3 separate regions of the Homo sapiens genome follow, and all the other regions are linked to region 1. Evidence: promoter capture Hi-C in human tissues and cell types (Jung and others, 2019). All regions are on one chromosome and are shown on one strand. The core of a region is centred on a gene start or on the middle of the fragment in contact, and the rest is flanking DNA. Distances in the headings are between cores, read along the strand shown. Region 1 holds the start of UPK3A (uroplakin 3A). Region 2 overlaps FAM118A (family with sequence similarity 118 member A). Region 3 overlaps FAM118A (family with sequence similarity 118 member A).

Region 1 (4,003 bases), core at 825-3,324:
TCCTATTGATGAGATTCAAGTTAAACCTTTTGGGCGGGACATGGATGTCCAAGTAGCTGGGACTACAGGCGCCTGCCACCACGCCTGGCTAGTTTTTTGGGTTTTTTTGTATATTTAGTAGAGAAGGGGTTTCACTGTGTTGGCCAGGCTGGTCTCAAACTCCTGACCTCATGATCTGCCCACCTCGGCCTCTCAAAGTGCTGGGATTACAAGCGTGAGCCACCGCATCCAGCTGGGGAAAGATTTTTAGGGATCAAGGGCCGGGCGCGGTGGCTCACGCCTGTAATCCCAGCACTTTGGGAGGCTGAGGTGCGTGGATCACAAGGTCAGGAGATTGAGACCATCCTGGCTAACACAGCGAAACCCCGTCTCTACTAAAACAATACAAAATATCAGCCAGGCATGGTGGCAGGTGCCTGTAGTCCCAGCTACTCGGGAGGCTGAGGCAGAAGAATGGCGTGAACGTGGGAAGTGGAGCTTGCAGTGAGCCGAGATCACGCCACTGCACTCCAGCCTGGGTGACAGAGCAAGACTCCGTCCCCCCCAAAAAAAAAAAGAAAAAAAAGATTTTTAGGGAACAAGACATACATTAATCCAGAGATACCAACTTTACCAAATGATGAAATGGAACATCCCCAATAATGGGACACACTGACCTCATGTGCTTCCTTCCTCCATTCCAAATCTCCCTCATCCTACAGTGAGAATCTGGGTTCTGGTACCACCAATCCTAGGATAACCCAAAGTTGCTTCGGAATGGCTCCGCCCTCCCCACTGCCAATAACAAAGTCACTAGTGAGGTTTGGGGTTCTGTCACAGGCCTCCCAGTTCTTAGAGTGTACTCCACTAAGGAGGTACCCCTGGACAACCCAGCTCTATAATTACTCAGATCGTTTTATTCTTTTTCTGCAAGTGAGGTTATGTCATCAACGTCATACAGAGATTAATTAGTTTCTGTTGATTTTCTTTATCTTTTTTCTAAGAGACAGGGTCTGGCTCTGTTATTGCAGCTTTAATCATAGCTCAAAGTGGCATGATCATAGTTCACTGTAGCCTCGACCTCCTGGGCTCAAGCAATCCTGGGACTACAGGCATGCCCCACTAGGCTGAGCTAATTTTTTTTTTTTTTTTTTTGGTAGAGATGGGGTCTCACTATGATGCCCAGGATGGTCTCTAGCTCCTGGCCTCAAGGGATCCTCCTATCTTGACCTCCCAAAGTGTTGGGATTACAGGCATGAGCCTCCTTGCCCCTCTTCTGTTGTTTTTTTCCTATCCTTGTTGACTTACTTTTATTTCTTAAATGTAAAATTGATTTAAGGTGCATCCAGAGATGTGCACAGATTCTTGTGATGGAGGGAACCGCACAGTCATGGTGAGGAGTCCATCATAATTTTCAAACGCCCCTTTAAGAAGTAGGCATTAACACCCTGCTCCATCCCTTTGGAGGCAGCCCTGGGCTGAGCACTGGACTCCTGGGTTCCACCAGCCTCAGTGTCTCCAGGAGACCAAGCGCGGCCGGGGGTGAGTCCCTGTCCCCGCGCCCCCCACCACGCTCCAATACTTACCCCCTGCCCCACCCCCCAGCCTCCCGGGCCTTGGCTTGTACCTGTGAACCGAAGGGGTCATACTAGGCGTCATACTAGGGTCTCTGGATAGCTCCCAGGCCTGGACTTCGTTTTCCAGGATATCACCTTTACTGGTCAACCCATTTTGTTTCGCGAGTGCCCAGTGAGTGTTTGGCACGTAATAGAGCCTCCATAAATAGTTGTAGAAATTAGCGTCATTTTACAGTATGGAAACTGAGGCTCCAAGTGGGAGTGGCTTGCCCTCAAGGTCCCATTGGTGAGAGACGCTGTGGAAGGGCTGCCCTGGCCTGGGCACACAGTAGGCGCTTTGATGCGGGCTGGAGAAGGTCCTGCCCGGTGGGATTGCGCCCTGGGGCACCGCGCACGGGTCGGGGAAGCCCGGGGCAGGGCCGTATGCAAATAGCGCGCGAGGAGGCCGCGGATTGGCCAGCCCAGGCGGGGGCGGGGCGCGCCGAGGGCCCAGAGCTGGCAGGTGCCCTGGCAGGGACAGGTCTGGTGCCCGCGCCTGCTCGCTGGACCGCCCGCCCCGCGCTCTGGCGGCTCCTCCCGGGCGATGCCTCCGCTCTGGGCCCTGCTGGCCCTCGGCTGCCTGCGGTTCGGCTCGGGTAGGCGGTGAAGGGCAGGAGGGGGCTGAGCCCAGAAAGAGCGGGCAGCTCTGCCCTGGGGCGCCCGCCGCCTGGACCCTGATTCCTGGCGCTGGGGACCCAGATATTACTGTTATGAATAATAGTGATAGCCAACGTTTACGGGCCTCCTCTGTTGGGAATCCGAGGGCTCACAGATGGCTGCAGCCCTGCGATGTGTGTTGCAAGAGACCAACATGCAGGGGGGCTGCGGTAGGACAGAGAAGGGACTAGCCCCAGCCCCATGGTGACGCCTGGACGGGGGCAGATAGAGAGATATTTCGGCCGAGGAAGCAGCATGGGCAAGTTCATGGAGGGGAGACAATATTGGGCTGTCCTGGGAACTGCCAGTCCATGGGACCAGCTGGAGCCTGGGGTGAGGGGAGCCTGTGGGGGAAGGGGTGAGGCTGGAGACCGAACAAAGCAAAGCCCAGAACTTCAGGACCTCACTGCCTTTCCAGAGAGGCTGGACTTCGTCAGGGGGCGCTGGGGGACCATGGGAGGGCCATAGCCAGAGAATGAGGCAGTCAGACTTGCATGTGGGGGGAGGGCCCAGGTGAGGAAGGTGGGACGGAGGAGGGCTGGGCCGATGGCATGGAGAGATGCTTAGGAGGGGCAGTGGAGTTCTTGGCAACTGAGTGTCTGCAGCAGGGAGAGAAGGCAGCAGTTTGGCCCGACCGCTCCATTTCTGAGCAGGATGACTGGGCAGGGGGCAGTGTCTGAGACAGCTTATGCGGTGGCCCAGGGGGAGGGTGAAGCCCAGGGCCTGGCACACAACACGTGCTCAGTAACTGCAAGCAGAGTGGGTGTGGACAGTTCTGCCGGAGGTCAGTTCCCATCCTCACTGCCTCCTCCAGCTGTGAACCTGCAGCCCCAACTGGCCAGTGTGACTTTCGCCACCAACAACCCCACACTTACCACTGTGGCCTTGGAAAAGCCTCTCTGCATGTTTGACAGCAAAGAGGCCCTCACTGGCACCCACGAGGTCTACCTGTATGTCCTGGTCGACTCAGGTAAGGGTCCTGCTTCCCTCTGGCTACTCCAAAAGGGGCTCTGACCTGTCTGCAGGGAGGAGGGAAGGAGGCAGATAGAGGAACCCTCCATGCCTGTAGTCGTCTCATTAAACAGGTACTGCAGCCACAGACCTGTCCTTGCCTTGCAGGGACATCCAGTTAGTGAGGGAAGTAATAACACCACCAGTCACTGAACACCTACACCATACCAGGCACTTTGCACACCATAGAGCTAGTATCTACAACCAGCTTGTAAGGTAGCTATTACCAATCCCCATTACAGAGCAGGGAAGCAAGGCTCAGAGAGGTGGAATAACCCCCCCTGGACCTCCCAGGGCTGGAGAGTGAATCCTGATCTCTCTAGTCCCCAAGCCCAAGGTCCTTCCTGAGGCTTCGAAAGGTGGCTCAAGATTGGTGTTTCTGAGACAAAACCATGCATTTGGACCTGCTGCTGTGGCCCAGCCCCAACCCCTGCCCTGGAGGGGATCCTGAGCTTCTGAGACAAGCCAACATCAACTCTTGCATTTCTAGCAGCCAGTCATTTACAACAGCTCATTCGGGACCATCCTTTTCTTCTTTCAGCATGTGTTTATTGACTATAAACTAAAGTGCCTGATCTCCGGGCACTGTAGGGAATTTCTCTCCCATTTCATAGAAGACTAGGGTCTGAAGAGGTAGAGTGAGTTGTCCAAGGTCACCCATCTAGTAAGGAGGAGAGCTGGGTCCTGCCTCCACGTTATTTCCCTTGGACCGATGACCTTCCTTTCCCATTTTACACAAG
Region 2 (3,713 bases), core at 542-3,041, 34 kb after region 1:
GTGAGCATTCGGAAACTTTGCCGAGTAAATGTGACACCACTCACTCCTGTGTGAGATGGATGTAGTTTGAGCTTATGTTTACTCTGAGTCCCTCTTGCTTCATTGTAATCAGATGCTGCTTGGACACCCTTATCTCCTTGCTTTTTGAAACTGCTCAAAGCCCATGTGATCATCTATTTATAGAAAGAAATTAAGAAAGTTGGGCACAGTGGCTCACACCTGTAATCCCAGCACTTTGGGAAGCTGAGGCAAGTGGATTGCTTGAGGTCAGGAGTTCGAGACCAGCCTCTGACCAACATGGTGAAACCTGTCTCTACTGAAAAACCACAAACTTATCCAGGTTTAGTGGCGTGTGCCTGTAATCCCAGCTACTTGGAAGGCTGAGGCAGGAGAATTGCTTGAACCCGGGAGGCGGAGGTTGCACCAAGCCGAGATTGCGCCATTGCACTCTAGCCTAGGCAACAAGAGTGAAACTCACTCTCAAAACACACAGAAAAGGTTTTCTTAAAGGATACTTTTGAGGATCCCAGAATCTGGACACTTCCAGTTGATGGTTTGTGCTTGTTAAGTGAACATATAGCTTGTAATGGAAAGCGAGTAATTTAAGGTTTTTTTGTTACACCACTTTTAATCATTACAGTTCTTGACACACATTCCCCTCTCCCCACAGAGCCTCGTGATGTTCGTTCATTCGTCCATCTGCTCTGTTTTCCTTGGCACTCTGGGCTTCTCCCTGTCCCGCCAGGGTTTAAACAGCCACAGCCTATTTGCTAGCTCAGCGCCAGGCCCAGGTCCCGGCCCAGCAGGTTCTTATGCCAGGCTCGCTGGGGCCACTCATGCAGTTGTGGCCCAAGGCAGCCTTGCTCTTGTGTGGGTGGATGGTACCTCGGCTGCCCACCAAGTGGCAGGCCAGAGCTCTGCAGGGCAGAATTCCACCGGGACAGGCTCTGTCGTAAAGGGTGTGTCGGACTTGTACTTGCTTCCCGTTATCCCATTTGCCGATATCTCAGTGGCCAAAAAGTCACATGGCTAAGCCTGGAGTCTGTGAGGGGCTGTAGAAGGGTGTGGCTGCCAGCAGGCATGAGGGGCGGGGCCATTAACATCCTACCACGGTAGGGTTGTGAGGTACTTTGTTTTACTACCTGTAAATAACAAGTTCGATTTTGGTAGCTTGTATTTTGCATTGAACTCCGTTTGATGAACGTTTACGTAGTGCTGGATGCCAGGGTTTGAAGAATAAGACAGTCTCTAGCTACTCTATGCTAGTTTATAAAATGCTAGTGATCTTAAGTTCTAAGCAGACAGCATCCTGGTAAGAGTTTGGCTTTGGATTAAAAAAGACAGGAACTGCTTATAAGAATCTCTGCTGGGGCCAGATTTTGCTTTCAGAAATGCTGATAGGTCCTTGAAAAAAAAGAAGGGTTGCTATGATGACTTGGCTCTGGGCCCACACACCGTGGTGACGACATAGTCACTAAGGAAACCGAGAGATGCAGCGTCTGAAAGGCCTCCGAAGGGTTTTGTTACTGTTTTCTGGGATCTGATTGGCTTAGACGGTGTTTGGATGGGAGCAGAACGCTGGAGCTTGCTGTCCTGCTGAAACTTCTAGGACCTGGTGCCGAGTGCTTTTGAGATCACCTTACTTGGATTTTGGTTTAAAAACAAGGGGGAGATTTAGGGTAATTTCTAGATTATTGTGAGATTTGACTCTGATGTTTAGGCTGCTGTAAAACAGGAAATGAGGTAATGTCTTTAAACATGTAGTGTGATAATGAACTGTAAATGTCTAAATATGGGCAACTGTGCAGTTCAAGTTGCAGAGTTGCTGTGTTGAGTTTTTATATAATTGGGTACTTTCCGTGTTGGCTCCTTTGATCCTTAAAAGTATGCATCAGTATTAAAGTCTAGAGGCCCATCTGCCTATTGAGGTTGGACTCCGTGTGGTTGTGTTTGAAATACTGTCTGAGGAGCCAGCACCAGACCTGCAGTTCAGGCTGAGAAAGAGGTTTTGAGCACTTAAGCGAGCCACAGACCACCCAGGAGTGCGAGCTGTGGCCTGTTACGTAAGTGTTAGGAATAGTGTGATACCTCGTTCTTTTGAGAAACTTTGAAATCACTTAATTTCGGAGTTAAATATAGCCTGCAAAAGTTTAATTTGTTCATACTGTTTTTGAAGATGTGTAAATGCAGTATTTAGGATTTGAATTTGTAACCATAATCACTTATATGTGGAGAATCGAAAGCAATTGAACAGTGGTTGAAAGAACTAGAGGTAGATTTTGAAAGTTCTTTACTGTGGTAACAGTTTTAGGCATGTGGTTTTTTTACGTCACTGGTTGACCAGTGCGTGTTTAAAAAATAGTCTAAAATGTCGTGTACAGACGGCTGAACTAAACAAGCCCTTCTCATAGACAGGGAGGAGTAACTATTTGGAAGTGATGTGGATTATTTTGGGGGGCGGGAGTAGGGGGCACTTGAATTAGCCAGCTGATGAGCCCTCTTATCGTCCCCTTCCAAATAGGATTGAACAGGAGTGGCTCCCAAGTCCTGCCCCACAGCAGGAGGCCGGGAGTGTGCAGGCCGCCTCATCCACAGGCCAGAGCCTGAGCTGTTGGACTCAGCAGTTCCAGCTGCCAGAGCACTTTCATACAGAGGCCTGAGCTTTCAAAACTCGGCCCATTGGCAAGAATCCATGTTTTATGGTTAATAAAACTGAGGATTGGTGAACAGTTAAATCAGTCATTGAAATCTCAGGGGTGGGGTCCAGAGTTGCTTATATTATTAATAGATGGTGGAGGGATTATATTATACAGCGGAGAAACTCAACTTCTGTTACTTTCCTTAGAAAGTATCTAGTAGATTAAAAAAACAAAAGATTAGTTTGATGACTGATGTTAACTCCTCAATGGGAAGAAGGATGTGTTAGGGCCAAGCCCCAGCCCGGACTCTGCCAGTCTTTCCCTGGGGCAGGTTACAGGCATCTGTGAGCCTCGTTTTCTTTGCCTGTGGACTGTGATTTCTTAGCATTTGGGGTAAGGTCGCAGACATGTTTGGGAGTTGATGGAAGCTGTGAACTCTCCCTAGGAAAATATATGCATGGACTTAGGTAGTTGTTTACATTTTCAAAGGATAACGGGGATCCCATTTAGCTCTGCGATCTAATGATGCTTATGGACTGATTAAGCCTTGTTTCCTTACCCTGGAAAATTACTTTTGATGACCTGATTCTAGTGGCTGGGTGTGTGTGTGTGAGTGAAGATTACACATGTGAAAAAGTGATTTTTCAGCCAGTTGCTGTGGCTCATGCCTGTAATCCCAGCACTTTGGGAGGCCGATGCAGGCGGATCACAAGGTCAAAGATCGAGACCATCCTGGCTAACATGGTGAAATCCCGTCTCTATGAAAAATACAAAAATTAGCCGGATGTGGTGGCGCAGGCCTGTGCCACTGCACTCCAGCCTGGTGACAAAGCGAGACTCCATCAAAAAAAAACAAACAAACACGTAATTTTTCTTTTTCTTTTCTTCCTTCTTCTTCTTCTTTTTTTTTTTCTTTTTAAGACAGGGTCTCACTCTGCGACCCAGGCTGGAGTGCAGTGGCACAGTCGTGGTTCACTGCAGCCTCAACCTCCTGGGCTCAGGTGATTTTACCATTCAGCCTTCCAAGTAGCTGGGACTACAGATGAGCACCACCACATTGGCTAATTTTTGTAT
Region 3 (3,895 bases), core at 346-2,845, 53 kb after region 1:
GCAGGAAGTATGAAACCGCCGCAGTCGGCTCCCCGTTGCCACCTATTCCCATGCGAAAGGACATCTTCATTACACTTGCTTTCTCACTGAAATGCGACTCCTGGAAGCATGGCTCTCTTTGGAGAGAAGCCGTAGCGTGGTTGATGTCATCTCTAGTGGATGGCAGGGTCTGCTTGGCCAGTGCTTCAGTAAGGTCACATTATGAACTGTGCCTTGGCGAGTGGATTCTGAATAAACAAGCTTCTTAATAAATTCTTCTCTTTTAGGTAATGCATGCCAGGACTGTGCAAAGAGGAAGTTAGAAGAGAATGGAATTGAAGTTTCAAAAAAACGCACACAATCAGATACTGGTATTGTGTCTGTTCTTTTTGTGGGGAGCTGCCTCGGGTCTCTCTTGTTGGCAGGCATCTTCAGGGACCGTGCTGCGCTTTAATGCCCCGCGCCCTATGGTGGGAGGACGGTGCATACGTTCTGTCAGGGCCAGAGAGCACAGGAGGCTTACTTAGCAGAGACCCTGACCTCTCACCCCAACCCGATTCCAACTGCCCAGAGCTACTGGTACCTCTTTAGAAAAATGTTACGGAGAAAACATACACTAAGAAGGTGCAGCGGGCAGAAGGTGCTCTCTCCAAAAAGAAAAGTTAAAAAGATGAATAAAAAGTGCACAAGTTACATAAGGTCAGCTCCGCATTTTTGCGAAGTGAACGCTCCCATCTAATCACACGCAGTTGAGGAAGCAGCATTGCCAGGACACCCCTTGTCACTGTCCAGCCTCCTCCAGCCCCCAAGGGTGACCACTAGCCTGATGCATGTCACCTGAGTCTCTGGAGAAAAGCACTTTAACTCATTTGAGCTTTGTTGCCTCTGTTACAGACTAAGATTTATTTAAGTGATTGAACTATTTATCTAAACAGTGTATTTGAATAGGCCTCTCTGTTGACGCTATGAAGGGCGATCTCGCTTGTTCGTGCCGGTCCCTCCCTCTCCTCCCCTCCTCCTCCTCCCAGGTTTGCGTAGTGCTGTGTGTTATTTCTCATTCTTTAAATAACATACTTAAGCCAGACTTCCCCACACGAAGCCTGGGCTGGATGGGCCCCCACATGCGTATCCCACCCCCTAGCCCGCTGGCTTCCCCGTTTTGTCGGTCTCCGTGGTGACAGGACAGAAAGGAAACGAGACCCCCAGTCTGTCTGTAGGTTGATTGTAAAAGTTGGCAAACAAAAGCATTTCCGTGATGAAAACAGCGTCAGTGTTCTTTCCTGCTTAGCCAGCATGTGTGTTGTGTCTGTGGGCCCAGTGCCACGCCGCCTGTGCCAGCTGCGGATGTGTCCTCAATGTCAGGGTCAAATGTGGCTTGTTCTTATATTCCATTCTCCCATTTTTTATTGTTTAATATTGGGGCTTGAAGACATTTGTGTTACTTCTTACTTTTTGAGGAGTTTTTAGGTTCTTCTTTCCCCTTTGTGTTCCAAAAACTAACGTTTCCCAATATTCTTAAATGTATGCACTCCCTCAGCTTTCAGAACTGAATAAGAAATTTTTTTTTAAAAAAAGTATGCATTCTCTTCATCCTGCCACCCCACATCTCCCAGGACACCTTCTCCTGGTCGGCTCCGCTGGGGACTGCTACCTCCTGAGCTCCCCTCCTTCTCTCTGAGATGGAGGCCTAGGTCTCCCTTGCTCTGGCCCCCCATCCATCCTGCTAGTACCTCCTGAGGCCGCTTCTGCAGACCCCAGTGTGGGGTCGCCTCCTGAGGGCCATGTGTCTGCAGGTGTCTGTGCCATCCTCATGCTCGCGGGAGTTTTGGCATGGGATTCTCCGTTGTGATTCCCCCGGACTCCACTGTCTGAAGACCAGGTTTCCTATGAAGAGGGTCTGATGGGAACCTGTTCCCAGTGATTTGAAGGTACCCGTTGCTTTTTTTCCTGGGAGTTTTTAGGATCCTCTTTTCCCTTGATTAGAAATTCAATGAGGATGTATTTAGGTGGAAAACTTTTTTACCTGCCTTACTCACATGTTCTTTTTCCTCTTCCATTTCTCCAGTTCTGGAATGGTCTGTGATTCTCTTTATTTCTTCTTTCCATCTTCTCTGTTCTCCCTTTCTGGAAGTCATACTAGTTGGGATTGCCTGGATTGATTTCCACCGTCTTTTAAGTTTTCTCTGATGTCTTTTTTTTTATTTTTTGAGACAGAGTCTTGCTCTGTTGCCCAGGCTGGAGTGCAGTGGCGCGATCTCGGCTCACCACAACCTCCGCTTCTTGGATTCAAGCTGTTTTCCTGCCTCAGCCTCCTGAGCAGCTGGGACTACAGTCGCACACCACCATGCCCGACTAATTTTGTACTTTTAGTAGAGATGGGGTTTCACTATGTTGGCCAGGCTGGTCTCAAACTCCTGACCTTGTGATCCACCCACTTTGGCTTCCCAAACTGCTGGGATTATAGGCGTGAGCCACTGCGCCCGGCCAAGCTCTTGTTTTCTTAGTTACCTTTTCTCAGAGCATCTGCTGTTGTAAGTCTGCGAGAACTCTGGAGACAGAAGTCAACCTGGTTATCTGACTCTACTACATTCCTGAAAACATTGAGAGAGGATTTTCATATAATAGGAGTTTATATTTAGTACTTTATATAAGTAAGCCAAAGTAAAACACTCTTAAATACCTATATAGCAGTCCACCCAAAATTTCTGAGAGCTACGAAGCATCCAGCTTATCAGTTACCTCTTCATTTAACATTTAAATCCTTCAGTGGGTATGCTGGAGCAGTATCATGTCCCTGCACGTTCCTTCAACACCACAGGGACCATGTGCAATAGTCCATGTTATAAAGATTCTTAGTGAGTGCAAATTTAGTCAAGTAAAATAAGGCAGTTCTAAAAGGGCCACCTGCAGAGTGAATTATAGCACAAGCGAGGGCTGGTGGCAGGGGGTGGGGGCGCCCTAGCGTCCTGCCGTCCAGGGGCAGGGAAGATGAGAGTGAGCTGATGTGGCAGTCCTTGTGGGAGAGCTGTGAGGGGCAGCTGTCACAGACTCGACATCCTCTCATTTAGTTTTATACAACTTTGGCTGGGCTTAGTGGTTCACGCCTATATTACCAGCACTTTGGGAGGCTGAGGCAGGTGAATCACCTGAGGCCAGGTCAGCCTGGCCAACATGGCGAAACCCCGTCTCTACTAAAAATACAAAAATTAACTGGGTGTGGTGGCGGGCGCCTACTGTAGTCCCAGCTACTCAGGAGGCTGAGGCAGGAGAATTGCTTGAACCCAGGAGGCGGAGGTTGCAGTGAGCCGAGATCACACCATTGTACTCCAGCCTGGGCGACAGAGCAAGACTCCGTTTCAAAAAAGATAAAATAATAATAATAGTTTTATACAACTTCAAATGCACTTGGGGGCACACATGTTTTAGAGAATTCGATTTTGATATTGTTTTGGATCAAACTGTTTGAAATCTTTTTGCAAATATTTGGATTGTGAGTTCAGCTAGTAGAACCATCATATAAGTAAAAACAAAACACAAAACTGGTGTTCTGTGAACTGTTTCCTCCGGGGTAGGTGGTTCTTTTCCACTACTTTCTTTCACGTTCATTGTTTTGTTTTCTGCATATCTGGGCTCCTCCAGTGCCTGCTGACAAGAACGAAGGCCCGGGCGATTATTCTCAATAGATTGGCTTTCTTCTGCTGTTGCTGCTGTTGTGTGTACATAGATTTTGTCCCCCCGTGGCCTACCTCTGACTGGTGTGCACATCGCGGGTAGGGCCTACTGCCTGGTAGACCTTGCTGTGGAGCATTGGGCAGGGGTTTTCTTCAATACCTGTGAGATCTGTGCTCCTAGACGCCATCACCTGCACCTGCAGCCCCGGCTCTCCCCACCCAGTCATGTCTCCTTAGGGCGAAGC

Evidence for each region. The method cuts DNA at HindIII sites, captures the fragments that hold promoters and counts their contacts. A contact is called where the count stands out against the background at its distance.
Region 2: a contact is called between a fragment that was not itself captured here and the fragment with the promoter of UPK3A in region 1, in 2 of the 25 tissues and cell types used here (spleen and stomach).
Region 3: a contact is called between a fragment that was not itself captured here and the fragment with the promoter of UPK3A in region 1, in 1 of the 25 tissues and cell types used here (ovary).

Annotation. Positions count from the first base shown.
Region 1 is chr22:45,282,875-45,286,877 of GRCh38, forward strand. UPK3A (uroplakin 3A) reads left to right here and starts at 2,075. Exons shown (of 6, transcript NM_006953.4): 1 at 2,075-2,191; 2 at 3,067-3,222. The coding sequence starts at 2,140. RefSeq lists a silencer at 1,896-2,205. The HindIII fragment of the contact is 20,192 bases long and covers 1-4,003 here.
Region 2 is chr22:45,316,898-45,320,610 of GRCh38, forward strand. The region is part of intron 1 of FAM118A (family with sequence similarity 118 member A); the gene reads left to right. Among named protein-coding and RNA genes, the nearest start is that of FAM118A, 8.8 kb to the left of the region's middle. RefSeq lists enhancers at 1,585-1,634, 1,685-1,754. The HindIII fragment of the contact is 9,677 bases long and covers 1-3,713 here.
Region 3 is chr22:45,336,062-45,339,956 of GRCh38, forward strand. It overlaps FAM118A (family with sequence similarity 118 member A), which reads left to right. Exons shown (of 9, transcript NM_017911.4): 8 at 267-350. Among named protein-coding and RNA genes, the nearest start is that of FAM118A, 28 kb to the left of the region's middle. The HindIII fragment of the contact is 3,238 bases long and covers 1-3,214 here.